5 separate regions of the Homo sapiens genome follow, and all the other regions are linked to region 1. The links are contacts of gene promoters, found by promoter capture Hi-C in blood cells and fetal thymus (Javierre and others, 2016). All regions are on one chromosome and are shown on one strand. The core of a region is centred on a gene start or on the middle of the fragment in contact, and the rest is flanking DNA. Distances in the headings are between cores, read along the strand shown. Region 1 holds the start of DPAGT1 (dolichyl-phosphate N-acetylglucosaminephosphotransferase 1). Region 2 holds the start of RNF26 (ring finger protein 26). Region 3 holds the start of MCAM (melanoma cell adhesion molecule). Region 4 overlaps CBL (Cbl proto-oncogene). Region 5 overlaps CBL (Cbl proto-oncogene).

Region 1 (2,673 bases), core at 1-2,500:
AGGGGCAGCAGTGGTAGGACTACCTACCCAAGTCCAGATGCAGGCCAAGTATCGGGCGGAAGGGCTTGGGCACCACAATGGTCGTGTTGCCAAAGTTGGTGAAATAGACCATGAGGAGAGGTAGTGAGGCAGCTGTAGGTAGCAGCAGCTTATGGCGCCAGCGCAGATTCAGTACATCATCCGCAAAGCCCAGGAAGATCATGCAGCAGATGGCAAGGAGGGCACCTATCAGGGCCACAAACTGGGGGAGGCTCGGGCAGGTCCATGACTCAAGCCTGCTCCCATTCCACCTTTTAAGAATTCCTGTCTTTTCTGATAATTTCTTAGCCCCTCCCCACAAGCCCAAATAACCCCAGTTCTCTCAGGTACCTCCCAGGTCCCAGCCACAGGCAATCACCCCCACGAACCCACTTACTTCATGGTGGGGGAATGCCTTACACTGCTCCTTCACAAAGCAGTTCAGGAAGGGGAAAGGGATGAAGCAGAAGAGGATGATAAGGAAAACAGCACCGCTGATCACTCCCTGGGATTCTGGGCTGTGGCCCAGCAGCAAGGGGGCGAGGGGGAAGAGGAAAGGGGGCGTGGTCACTCACTAGTGCAGGTGTTACAGTAACCCAAAGTGGTCTTCTCATTCCCGGTTTTTTATTCTGGTAAGTGGTGAGGGGGGCGGAGGGAGGAAAGCACCACTGCCAGAGTCCCAGATATACCCAAGGGTCCCTACCCATCCTTTCCCCAATGCGAGTAAGTTCTGCTCATCACCTCTCCGAGTTCCAGGCTGCCTGGGTTAGTTCTGAGTCTTCACGTGTGGTCAAGCACCCCGGTTCCCGCCCCTGCCCTAGCCACTCCTTCCTTAGCCCTTGCCCCCTGCCCGGACCCGTGTGCCGCTGCTCACATCTGCTGTCGGCTGGTTTTGTTGAGGTCCTGACCACAGAGGCGCGCAGCAATGAAGTGGCCCCGGAAGGCCGGGATGAGGGTGACTGTGGCCACAAATCCCAGCAGCGAGACGATCAAATTGATCAGCAGCGGCATGGGCAATTCCGAGAAGGCCCACATGGTGACCGGTCAGGGGCCCGGCTCCGCCGCCTCTTCAGGTAACGGGCAAGCTGAGCAGCAGTCCTGAGGCCTCAGCAGTATGGAGTGGCCGCTCCCCACAGGCAGGCTCTTCCCACACCAATCTGAGCAAAACCCAGCAACTCTGACTTGAGCCGCCGTCGGGACACCGGGGAACCTCTCTAAGGCAACCTATGTTCTGCCCCGCTGCACCCGCCTATCTACTGTTTCCGCCCGGATCTTGTTCGCTGAACAACCATTACTGCGGAAGGCGGCGGCCGCCATTTTTAATATGGGCATTAGAGGGTGGGGATGGAAGTGGAAGAGAAGTGTGATTCCAAATTTCATCCTATGTTCAAGAGTAGAATCACCGAGAGAGTACTGGAAACGCAATTAAAGAAAGGCAGCCAAGAACGGATACTTCCCTAACATTATGTTAAAGATGTACTACCCAGAGCGGAAATGCCAATTGCCCGGTTCCAAGATGAATGCCTCCTTGTACCACGTGTCTGACACCGCTCACATTCCGGTTCCACGTCAGTTTTAGCTCCGTCCGCCTCCATAGGTCAAGCTTAAAGGGCCCGTACCTCTCCCTTAATCTGGGATGCCTCCGGCTCCAGGAAGATGGCTATTGAAAGGCAGGGGGTGGGGAGGAGGGACGAGGGTGTGGAGACGCGCCTGTTTCTTGCAGGAAACCTGTTGCCAACATAGTCGGAAGCCAAGGTAAACACAACTCAGTTCCCGGAAACAAAGCTACGATTTGGAAGGATGGTGTAAATTCTAAAGCGTAGATCCTTGAAAAGCCCCTCCCACTCTGTTTTTCTTGTCCTCGATTCTGGTATTTTTTTCTCAGCATCCCACCCACCTTCTGCCCCAGCTGTAGCAGTTAGTTGCCCGGCAACCCAGCGCAGCACTTCACTGAGGGATTGGGAGTACCCTCAGGTCTTGGATTTAACTCGAGACTTCAGCTTGGCCGTGGATCACTGCATTGTACCTAGCTCCCACAAGGAGGAGATGGAGATTTCCAGGCTGAGGCTCTGGAAAGAGCTGAGGAGGGAGAGGAATCAGACCCACAACTGATTTCCTGTGAGTCTGAGGAACTCCCAGTCAGGTTTCTTCCTGTAGGTCACTGTGCATTTTGCTTGGCCTCCTGCAGGTTGCTGTGCATTTTGCTTGGCCTGTTCCCCTGCAAACAACAATTCACCAGCTTTTTTTTTTTTTTTTTTTTTTTTTTTTTGAGACAGAGTTTCGCTCTTGTTGCCCAGGCTGGAGTGCAATGGCGCGATCTCGGCTCACCGAAACCTCCACCTCCCAGGTTCAAGAGATTCTCCTGCCTCAGCCTCCCGAGTAGCTGGGATTACAGGCAGTAGCTGGAATTACAGGCATGCGCCACCACGCCCGGCTAATTTTGTATTTTTAGTAGAGACGGGATTTCCCTATGTTGGTCAGGCTGGTTTGGGACTCCCGACCTCAGGTGATCTGCCCGCCTTGGCCTCCCAAAATGCTGGGAGTACAGGCGTGAGCCACCACGCCCAGCCAGTTCACCAGCATCTTTATTACCTTTCATTCCCCGACAGGCTCTTAGGCGGCAAATGATTTCCATTTGTCAGAGAGGAAGTCACC
Region 2 (2,673 bases), core at 89-2,588, 230 kb after region 1:
ACATCAGCAACACATCACAACACAACAAACCATAACCTGGCCAGGGCCTGAGAGCAGGGAGAGAGAAAGGGTAGGAAGAAGCCAGAGGAGTTTCAGCGACTGCAGTCCTTCCTCTGCACTATAGCGTACCCCTACCACGATCCCAAGGCCTCAGTAAAGGTTTGCTGCACACCTCAGCTTCTTATCAGTGATGCTTTGGAGAATGAAGGACTCTGAGGCAGTGTTCAGGGCAGACTGAAGGAGGACGGACACTTTCAGGAGCCCAGGAGTGGAGATGGAGAATTCAACTCAAGTAGGAAATTCAGCAAAGGTGACCAGGGGAAAGATAAGTCCACTAGGAGTCTGCTAAGCATCCTTGGAGTTAGTAGAAAACGCCAGGATTCCCAATATATTTGGGATGGGGTTTCAAATATATTTTGACTATTGTTTGAGTATTAAAGAAAAGGGCAGGGCCGGGCTTGGTGGCTCACGCCTGTAATCTCAGCACTTTGGGAGGCCGAGGCGGGTGGATCACGAGGTTCAGGAGTTCGAGGCCAGCCTGGCCAACATGGTGAAACCTCGTCTCTACTAAAAATACAAAAATTAGCCGGGTGAGGTGGTGGGCACCTGTACTACCCGGGAGGCTGAGGCAGGAGAATCGCTTGAACCCGGGAGGCAGAGGTTGCAGTGAGCCGAGATCGCGCCACTGCACTCTAGGGTAGGAAGGCCCAGGGTAGGAAGCTGAGCGGTTTCTAAATCTGTAGCCCCTTTTTCTCAATGACAATGAAGTAATCTTCCGAGATGTTGAAAAACCTGGTGAGGAAAGTTTGGAATAGCAGTTTGGGAATCCCCTGTAATAATCTGCTTTCCCTTGTGAACAGCAGGCACTGTCTTAAAATTTTTTTGTATCCTCAATGCACTGTAGGAGTTCAATAAATGATAGAATAGATGAATAAATAGAAGAGAATGAGGAGACGGATCTGGGCAGGCTGCGAAGGCGGTGCTATTCCAAAGCCCAGCCCAGAGGCAGTGACCTCCGACCCAAGCCAAAAAAAAAACCTCGCGTTCAGAGGCCGGGAGAAAGAACAGCTCCCAAATTGAGGGGAGTCCAAGACCCTGCTCTTTTAGAGGGTGGGGCTAGGAGAGCGTATTTCGACGCTGCCCGCCAACGAACCAATCCCCGCCTAAAGGGGGAGGGGATTTAATCTGTCGCCTCTCCTTCCCTTTGGAAAGTAAATACGTTCGGGCGCCATTCAAACGGACCAATGAGTGATCGACGTTTTTGTGGTTGGCCTTCACCGATTGGCTGGAGTTTGTCGTCCCTCCCTCCTCGTCACGCCTCTGGCTCCACCCCTTTGCACACAAGATGGCGGCGCCCAGCGGAGTAGGGGCTGCGCTTGGGGTTTGCTGAAGCTGGCTGCCTCTCCCACTCCCCTTTTGGGTGCAAAGCGCCGCTAGCGGGAAGACGGGGGCCGGGCGGGGACAGGGGCACCTGCGTAGCTGGACTGAGAGCCTGCGCCCAGCTTACATCGACCCCACCCGGCCCCGGCCCGACCCGACGCGACCCGATCCGATCCGATCCCATTCCATCCGTTCCTCGTCTCCTCCCGGTCTGACCCGTTGCCCGGCCGTGGTTCGCCACACCAGGCATCCAAAGCTGAGGTCGCTCCTACGGCCTGGGCTCGCCTTCGCTTTAGAGATGTTTGGCCTCTTCCCTCCCAAACAGCCCATCTTCAAAACCTGGACTCTTGGACTGGCACCTGGCCACCTTTCCCTCTACCAAGACTCCACTTCCGTCTTACCCACTTCTTCCTCAGATTCTTGGTACCCCCTGGGTTGGAGACTGCTCATTTTCCTTCCAAATTAATCCCAGACCCCCTAAAATATTGACAACCTTGACAACCCCCCAACCGAGGAGCCAGACTTTGTTTTGGACTAACTTCCATAGCCCTATCATGGAGGCAGTGTACCTGGTAGTGAATGGGTTGGGCCTGGTGCTGGACGTGCTGACCTTGGTGTTGGACCTCAACTTCCTGCTGGTGTCCTCCCTCCTGGCTTCCCTGGCCTGGCTCCTGGCCTTCGTCTACAACCTGCCGCACACGGTACTGACTAGTCTTCTGCACTTGGGCCGCGGAGTCTTGCTTTCATTGCTGGCCTTGATCGAAGCCGTGGTCCGGTTCACATGTGGGGGCTTGCAGGCCTTGTGTACTCTGCTGTATAGCTGCTGCTCTGGCCTAGAGAGCCTAAAGCTCCTGGGGCACCTGGCCTCTCATGGGGCACTGCGGAGCAGGGAGATACTGCACCGGGGCGTCCTCAATGTGGTCTCCAGTGGCCATGCTTTGCTGCGCCAGGCCTGTGACATCTGTGCCATTGCCATGAGCCTGGTGGCTTATGTGATCAACAGCCTGGTCAACATCTGCCTCATCGGCACTCAGAACCTCTTTTCCCTGGTGCTGGCCCTGTGGGATGCAGTGACCGGGCCTCTGTGGAGGATGACGGACGTAGTGGCTGCCTTCCTAGCCCACATTTCCAGCAGTGCTGTGGCCATGGCCATCCTCCTTTGGACACCCTGCCAACTAGCCCTGGAGCTGCTGGCCTCAGCTGCCCGCCTCCTGGCCAGCTTTGTGCTTGTCAATCTCACTGGCTTGGTGTTGCTAGCTTGTGTGCTGGCAGTGACGGTGACTGTGTTGCATC
Region 3 (2,673 bases), core at 69-2,568, 220 kb after region 1:
ACCCTAGGTAGCTGGTAAGGATGGAGAGGTCAGAGTCTCCCCCAGGGGTCAGGGCAAGGGCCAGGCAGTGGGCAGGAGTGACGTCAGTGGTGCCAGCGTGCTGCCAGCCCTGTGAGGAGGTGATGTCACTCGACACCATCTGCCTGGGCTCTGGGATGCCTGGGTTGTTACCTTGGCTCTCGGACAAGGAGGGCAGGTGGAAGGTGGGGTCTCCAACCCAGAGCCTCAGACCCCTGACTCCTCCCAGAGCTAGAAGAGCAGGGCAGGGTGGAGCTGGACCGGCTGCAACTGTGGAGCCCGATTTAGCCCTTTCCCCAGAAATAAAGTCAGCCTGGGAGGCAGTAGCCTGGAATACCCCAGGGACATGGTTGGCACTGGGCATGAGGCCAGCGAGCTGGGTATTGCCTAGCCCTCCCCTTCCCCAGCCGGACAGCGGCTGGGACGGCGGAATGGGAGCCAAGAGAAACACGCGACACCGCTGCGGGCCATACAAGGGCAGCGTGGACCCGAGAGCGCCCTGCTACCAGGCGGATCCGGAGAAACGCTCCGAGGTGCCCGGGCGCACTTCCCACCTGAATGTGGTCCCCAAAATAAGCCAGCGGGCGCTTCCAGTATGGGAATCCTCCATCCCTCATCTCTGTCCCCTATGATCCCATCACTCGGGGAGGCGCGAGGCGACCCACACCGCCCCGCAACCCCTGCCAACGCCCAGCTCGGGCGGGAGCCGCCGAACCTCCCGCTCTCGCTCACCTCCAGCCTGGCGTGATGCCCAGGCAGAAGGGGGAAGGGGTGGGTCGGCGCACCCCCTCCAGCGAAGGAAGCTGCCTTTTCCAGCAACAGGCGGGCGCGGAATTCAGGCTTTGAGGATGCGCCCCAGCTGCGCCTCCTGCCCGGCTTCAATTGCGGGCCCCCAGAGTGAGCACCTCAGGGACCACCCACCCCCCAGCACCCCGAAAGGCTGAGCTCCACCCCTTCTCGTTCCCAGAAGCAGCCTCCTCCCCGCCTTCCGAGTGCTGCTCCCGGGATACTCTAGAATCCCGGCTGCAAACTGGCTGCAAAGAAGAGTTGCTCGCGCGCAAGGCGCCCGGGGATCGGGGACCCAGGGAGGAGGCTCGTCCTCCCAGACGCAACGCCCCGACCCCGCCGCGCCGCTGGCTCTGCTCCCTGGCACGCTCCACCGCAGACCCCTAGCCGGGGCGCGGCCCCCCTGCGAGCGAACTCACCCGCGACGCGAGGACAGCAGCAGCAGGCGGCGAGCAAGAAGGCGCAGACCAGCCTGGGAAGCCCCATGCTTCCCGGCCGGAGGGCGAGAGCCAAGTGAGCAGCTCGAGGCTGCCGGGGGCTGACGTCAGGGGGGCGGGGGAGGGGGCCCGGAGCGCCCGGGCCCGCCCCGCCCCGCGCAGCCCCCAGCCCCCGCCCCGCGCGCCGCAGCCCTAGGGGGCGGGCCCCGGCGCCGCCAGCCCGGGAGCTGCGCCTAGGAGCGCTGCCGGAGGTAGGCCAGAGCCGGACTCCCAGGCTCCTGGCTTGGGAAGGCTGAGGGGGTAGTGACAGGTGTCTCGGGGTCTGACTGGCCGAGGTGGCAGCGAGGAGAAGCTGTCCCGGATGCCCGGAGTCGCCCCGGGTCGAAGCCAGCCAGGCTCACCGCTGCTCAGCCCCTGCCAGCCAATGTAGCCCCTAGGGGACCTCCTGGGGGAGGAGCAGTAGCGGACCTGGTCCTCGGTGTCCCCAAGGGGCCTCCCACTTGGGCTCCCCTCCCTTGCCACAGAGAATTCAGGCCGGCCTCTATCGCTTCCCAGAACGATTGCACCACTGCCGCTGCCGCCGGCCTGACACTGCCTCAGCCTCAGTGCTGGCAGCTTTGGGAGAAGAACCCTGCGCCAGTCCCACAGACCCAGAAGTACCTGTATGGGGAGTGCAGACGATGCCTTCTGGGCTGTCCCTTCAAACGCAAGCTCCTGCAAGTCTAGCCTTTGACCAGAGAAAGGAAGGAGGGGGCTGAATTCGCAGGCCCAAGGTGTTCACACTTGTCCAGACCTGGGCCTTGAGAATCATGTTTCTTCCCTCTTCACTCTGGAGCCTACCCTGGAACTCAGTTTCCCCTCACCTAAGAGAAAGAAACAGGGAGAAGAAAGAGTTAATGGGCGAGGGTCCCCAGCCTGACCCTGCAAACCTGTTGCTGTTCCTGATGATTGAAAGGATCCCGGCAGCGCTGATCTTCCCCCACCCCATGTCTTCCCCAGCCCTATTGATTGTGGGTCCATAGCTGAGGGAAGAATCAAATCAGACCTGCTTGGGTGGGGAGCTCTGCAGCTCCCCTTCTCCCAAAACGCCGGCTTCTCCCTGGGTCTTCTGGCCTCTTGAACTAAGGCTCTAGGGAGGGGGAGGTGCTCTTGCCTCACTCTGACCCCAGCAGCCTGGCCTCAGAAAAGGGGTCCACATCTGCTGGCGCGCCTCCACCAGGGAGTGCCAAATAGGGGCCTGGATTTGGGTAGAGGTCTGTTGCCCAGCGGGGCCACCCCTTTGCTCGCTGGGGGAGGTGGAGGGTGAGCCAGCAAACCCTGGAGATGGCCAGGTGACTTGAGAGCATGCTCCGGGGTGGCGTTTTGATGACGCAGAGATGACTGGAAAACCACACCAGGCTTGTCTTTCAGAGCCTTCTCGACCCCTCCTCCA
Region 4 (2,673 bases), core at 117-2,616, 200 kb after region 1:
AGTGACATTTTTAGTTAGTGTACTTTTGCTAATTACTTGTCTTGGTCAGCAGAAATAATAGTTCCCTAGGTGACATGTATTTTGCTCTGTTCAATTTGAGTTATGTCTGTTTTTAAGCCATTTATTTTATACTTCAAAGTTTACTGGTTTGTTACTTCTTTTTCTATTTTTTATTCTTCATCTTCCAGACCTCTTCCTGTGCCAAAACTGCCACCTGGGGAGCAATGTGAGGGTGAAGAGGACACAGAGTACATGACTCCCTCTTCCAGGCCTCTACGGCCTTTGGATACATCCCAGAGTTCACGGTAGGTTCACAACAACCCTTTTTGGGCCCTATACCTTTATGTGGGTAATTGACACCCTTCACCTGCTTGGCTTGCTACCTGCACATACTGTTATCCAGTCAGATTAAAGCAGAAAGATAAAGATAAATCTAGCCCTTAATGGTTTAAGCCTTTTGTAGCTGTAGGTAATTACACTTATGTTTTCTCAGCAACATGAGAACCTCAAAAACACATACACCTATAACTTGCCACAAGAGTCAACTTTAACATTTATTAGTGATATTGGCAAAACGAGAAGATGAATCTTCATAAGTTTATAGATAACAGTTCTATTTCCAAAGATCATTATGGCACTTTCCTTCTGGTTCAGAGCATGTGATTGCGACCAGCAGATTGATAGCTGTACGTATGAAGCAATGTATAATATTCAGTCCCAGGCGCCATCTATCACCGAGAGCAGCACCTTTGGTAAGTTGCCATTCTGCTACTTTAAAAATCATTGATATGTCATAGGAATGAACATGTAATATTTGGCAATTGAGATAGCTTGATCTAAGCTCAAAATTCTTCTGTAGCTGGGACTACAGGTACGTGCCACCATGCCCGGCTAATTTTTGTATTTTTAGTAGAGACGGGGTTTCACTATGTTGGCCAGGCTGGCCTTGAACTCCTGACCTCAGGTGATCCACCCCTCCCAAAGTGCTGAGATTACAGGCGTGAGCCACCACGCCCAGACAAAGCTGAAAATTATTTTCAGTAATCTTTGGCAAAATATCTTTGACATGGGCAGTAAAGTATCCCCAATCCTTTATTTCCTACTCACACTGCTGGTTCCTTTTGTGCTTTTCTTTGTCCTTCCAGGGCCTAGAGACATTTGTGTTCTATACTCTGGACCTGTAAGCTCCTTTTTTTTCTCATTGCATTGATGAAATTCTTTTATGTGGGGGTGGTGAACACTCAATTCCCATGTTAACTAGCCTACCAGATTGAAAGTTCAAGAAGCCTGCTCTCACAGGATCCTTTGCTGATCTTCCAAGGTGGAATGTGGATAGAAATGTTTATTGAATGATCTGAGATGACACTGGAGTCATTGGCATCGGTGGCTATTAACCTTGTCAAGAATAACCTTTGGCATGTTCAAAAATGAAAGCTGCAGTGTTGGTGCAGATTTTATTTTCTATTTTTATCTCTGTTTACATGGTGTTTGGCCCACAGTAGACAATCAGTAACTGTTGAATGAGATAAATGATTGCATACATGTAAAAATGAATGGCTGCCCCGTATTGAAATGTATTAGAAGATGAAGTGCGTCAGAAGAAGATAACATCACTCATTTTTCTCCAGGTGAAGGGAATTTGGCCGCAGCCCATGCCAACACTGGTCCCGAGGAGTCAGAAAATGAGGATGATGGGTATGATGTCCCAAAGCCACCTGTGCCGGCCGTGCTGGCCCGCCGAACTCTCTCAGATATCTCTAATGCCAGCTCCTCCTTTGGCTGGTTGTCTCTGGATGGTGATCCTACAACAAGTGAGTCTCCAGACTACTTTGGGTTTGTCCTGAATGGCAGTGTGGCCTGTATGTTTATATTGAAAGGGAGATGACCTTCTCTGGTGACAGTAAGTCAGTATGTAGGCTAAACATTATGTCTAAATGGGAGGAAAGTCCCAAGTTAGGAAGTTAGACTGTAGTCAGACTCTTTAGGATTTTTGCAGACTTAGAAAAGAGGTCATTCCTTAAACTCTGGCTCTTCTTATGTTAGGGGTAGGTAGGATTTATAGTTTCTCTGAGTATGCCTTATGACACTGGTAATTAGGCTTGATGGCTCAGAGCACACATTCCTTTTTCCTGGGCTCTGTTCCATTGGAAAGAAGGCATGCTAGCTCTGGAACACACACTGAATGGGCCTGGAGCCAGCCCATGTTGGGCCTTGACTACTGGAGGCTGCTCTTCTTGCACCTGTGGCTGCCTGGTAGGGCAGCAGCCAGAGTTGCTGTCACTTTGGAATTGAAGACAGCCTTCAGGACAGACAGCTGGTGAAAAAGAATACAGCCTTCGCTTGCCCAGACGAGCAATGTCCCCCACTCAGCCTTGGCTAATGCTTCTTCATTGCAACTTATATCTGTCTTTTTCCTTATTTGTAGAAGGCGAAGTTTAGTATCTTTGGTCCCCTCAGAATTAAAACAGACAATTACATGTGCACAAACATGTTGCTTAGTGTAAAGCATGATGCAGATGTTTATGATTGCAGTGGTTATTGTTCATAGGACAGGTGCATGGTATATTTAGAAGGTTGTTTTTATTGTGATGAGGAGGCTATATCTTAAAACCCTTGAACCTGTAAAACCCAGCCTTGTGACTGAAGAGCACATGTACCCAGTTTACAGGAAGT
Region 5 (2,673 bases), core at 51-2,550, 180 kb after region 1:
GTGAAATTAAAGGTACTGAACCCATCGTGGTAGATCCGTTTGATCCTAGAGGGAGTGGCAGCCTGTTGAGGCAAGGAGCAGAGGGAGCTCCCTCCCCAAATTATGATGATGATGATGATGAACGAGCTGATGATACTCTCTTCATGATGAAGGAATTGGCTGGTGCCAAGGTAAGATGGCAGTTTAGGAGACTGGCAAAATCCATTGTGAGTTGTCTTCTAAAGCCGTAAAACACTTAACGATATCCAAACTACAATGATAGGTAGTATTAATAGCTAATATTTATTGAGCATTTACTATATGACAGATATTGTGTTAAGCACTTTACTTGTTTTTTACTCAATCTTTACTACAGCCCTATGAGTACATACTACTATTATCCTTATTTAACAGATGAAGAAACTGAGGCACAAAGAGGTTAAGGAATTTGCCGAAGACCACACAGCTAGTAGGTTGAAGCATCTGTGAGCTGCATCTATGACCAGGCATTCCAGCTTAAGGCCCATGTTCTTACTGTCTGTATTTTTTAGGACTAAGACTTTATTCATATCTGTTGGTGGAGAATATGAGGGAGAAATAAAAGAACTGGACCCTCTTTTGCTAATGCAACTAGAATAAGTTCTGTTCCCTTTTTTTTTTTTTATTTTAATGGAGTCTTGGCATTAGAAGGTTGGGGCTGGGCATGCCCATAGCTCATGCCTATAATCCCAGTACTTTGGGACGTTGAGGCTGGAGGATCAGTTGAGCCCAGTTTGAGGCCAGCCTTGGCAATATAGTGAGACCCTATCTCTACCCCTGACTCCAAAACAAAACAAAAAAAAGCTGGGTATGGTGTTGTGCACCTGTAGTTCTAACTACTCTGGAGGCCAAGGCTGGAGGATCAGTTGAGCCCAGCAATTCGACATAGCAAGACCGTATCTTTACCACCACTGCCCCCATGCCCCCCCCTAAAAAAAAAAATAGCTGGGCATGATGGTGTACGCCTGTAGTTCTAACTAGTCTGGAGACTGAGACGGGAGGATTGCTTGATCCCAGGAATTCAAGGCGGGAGTGAGTTGTGATTGTACCACTGCACTCTAGGTTGGGTGACAGAGCGAGACCCTGTCTCATAAATAAATAGTAATTGTATACAATGTGTAGTGTGACTTATTTCTGTAAAAAAATTTTTTTAAGCATATACGTAGAAAAACTGGATGACTACATACCAAACTAATCACTGTTATTTCTGAGGATAGGAATTCAGAGCACTTAAATTCTGTGGAATATTTGAATTTTTTACAATTAATGCATATTACTTTTTCAAAGTGTTTGTTGTGCTAGATGGTTGAGTGCTATATGGGATAAGAAGTCTAAGACAAGGCTTTCAAGGAGCTAATTGTTTTATTTAGGAAAAGGACATATGTGCAGGTGAAACACTTCAACACAAGGCAGACAGTGAACATTGTTCCAAATTGTTGGGTACACTATAAGTCGGATAGGAGTTTAGAGGAAAGAAGTAAAGGAACACACTTTCCCTAGCCATGTAGAAATGTAAACAGAAAAAAAACCAGCCTCATGTATTTTGTCATTTGGCCATTCCATAATTTATTTTGTCTTCCTTTTAATGAACATTCATATTGTTTGCAGGCTTACGTATATTGGCCTGCTTTTACAAGTCTGTCTAGGCTAGCAGTGGGATTGCTGCATAAGGGAGTGTGTATTTCAACTGTGATAGAGGGGAGGTTATAATTAACAGAGGGGCTTATGGGAATATCACAGTGATAATGGTATTTTGTTTTTTAGCTGGATGGTAGGTAAGTATATGGATGTTTTATTCCTTGTACTTTATAGTTCATTATATATTTTGTATGAGTAAAATAATTTGAGTGAAAATATTTAACTTTTGGTTAGTTATTAAAGTTTATCCCCCTTTTTTGGTCTTGAAATCACTCTTGAAGGTATGGAAAAGAATGAGAATGCCTGTTTCTTCACATCCTGGTAGATGTTGTTTGTTGTTTTATTTTGATTTTTTTTAATATACTGAATCTACTTATAGTTGGTGAATGCACATGGATTTTTTTTAAGGTTTAAAAGAATTGCTAAAAAAAACTTACAAAAACATTGGTTCCCTGCCTCTGCCCCCTCCAGCACCTCTCTGTCCCCTCGTTCAGAGTTTTAATTCTTGAAACTGTTTACTACCTCTGTGTTTCTTAACCATGTGCTTATACTGCTTTTTCTGGATTCTTGATCTCTTCACCTCAGATGTTGTGGGAGAGGGTTTAGGTCTCTTATATCTCCCTCCTCCCTACTCCATATCCTCCCACTACAGTTATTTGAATTTGGCTTAGTACTAGTGTTTACATGATTTCACTCCTTACTGTGCCAAGTAACATACTATACAATAATTACTTTTGCTTTCTTATACAACTTTCTGCTTTTCCTGGTATAATTATTTTTATTTTCTTAGTTTTCAGTTTGTACCTGTCACTACCAAATCATATCATACTCTCAAACATCCTCTCAATATAGTTTCTATGAAATAAAATCTGTTAGTATAGTAGTATGTGATACCGTGTACTGCTTTGTAGGAAATAGGAGTCATCTGTGTTCCGCTCCAGTCTGCTCCAGTTACTCCTGTGCCACACTACTTGTCACCCTGAGGTGTCCCCTCGCCATCCTCATGGGACTTCATTG

Evidence for each region. The method cuts DNA at HindIII sites, captures the fragments that hold promoters and counts their contacts. A CHiCAGO score of 5 or more calls a contact.
Region 2: a contact is called between the fragment with the promoter of RNF26 here and the fragment with the promoter of DPAGT1 in region 1, in 13 of 17 cell types (megakaryocytes, endothelial precursors, naive CD4 T cells and 10 more). The highest score is 13.7, in megakaryocytes.
Region 3: the fragment with the promoter of MCAM here is called in contact with the fragment with the promoter of DPAGT1 in region 1 in 15 of 17 cell types (endothelial precursors, megakaryocytes, fetal thymus and 12 more); the score reaches 18.4 in endothelial precursors.
Region 4: a fragment that was not itself captured here is called in contact with the fragment with the promoter of DPAGT1 in region 1 in 2 of 17 cell types (endothelial precursors and megakaryocytes); the score reaches 6.6 in endothelial precursors.
Region 5: a fragment that was not itself captured here is called in contact with the fragment with the promoter of DPAGT1 in region 1 in 1 of 17 cell types (megakaryocytes); the score reaches 5.0 in megakaryocytes.

Annotation. Positions count from the first base shown.
Region 1 is chr11:119,100,603-119,103,275 of GRCh38, forward strand. DPAGT1 (dolichyl-phosphate N-acetylglucosaminephosphotransferase 1) reads right to left here and starts at 1,251. Exons shown (of 9, transcript NM_001382.4): 1 at 893-1,251; 2 at 416-536; 3 at 28-241. The coding sequence starts at 1,053. It also overlaps a transcript of C2CD2L not described here. RefSeq lists enhancers at 379-1,092, 904-2,103, 1,286-1,595, 1,807-2,519. The HindIII fragment of the contact is 9,998 bases long and covers 1-1,619 here.
Region 2 is chr11:119,333,189-119,335,861 of GRCh38, forward strand. It overlaps RNF26 (ring finger protein 26), which reads left to right and starts at 1,339. Exons shown (of 1, transcript NM_032015.5): 1 at 1,339-2,673. The coding sequence starts at 1,935. RefSeq lists an enhancer at 981-1,872. The HindIII fragment of the contact is 9,565 bases long and covers 1-2,673 here.
Region 3 is chr11:119,315,812-119,318,484 of GRCh38, forward strand. It overlaps MCAM (melanoma cell adhesion molecule), which reads right to left and starts at 1,319. Exons shown (of 16, transcript NM_006500.3): 1 at 1,224-1,319. The coding sequence starts at 1,290. RefSeq lists an enhancer at 1-5 and a silencer at 1,598-1,657. The HindIII fragment of the contact is 17,882 bases long and covers 1-2,673 here.
Region 4 is chr11:119,296,730-119,299,402 of GRCh38, forward strand. CBL (Cbl proto-oncogene) reads left to right here. Exons shown (of 16, transcript NM_005188.4): 13 at 189-305; 14 at 655-752; 15 at 1,629-1,811. Among named protein-coding and RNA genes, the nearest start is that of MIR6756, 15 kb to the right of the region's middle. The HindIII fragment of the contact is 3,184 bases long and covers 1-2,673 here.
Region 5 is chr11:119,278,544-119,281,216 of GRCh38, forward strand. CBL (Cbl proto-oncogene) reads left to right here. Exons shown (of 16, transcript NM_005188.4): 9 at 1-170. Among named protein-coding and RNA genes, the nearest start is that of MIR6756, 33 kb to the right of the region's middle. The HindIII fragment of the contact is 3,919 bases long and covers 1-2,673 here.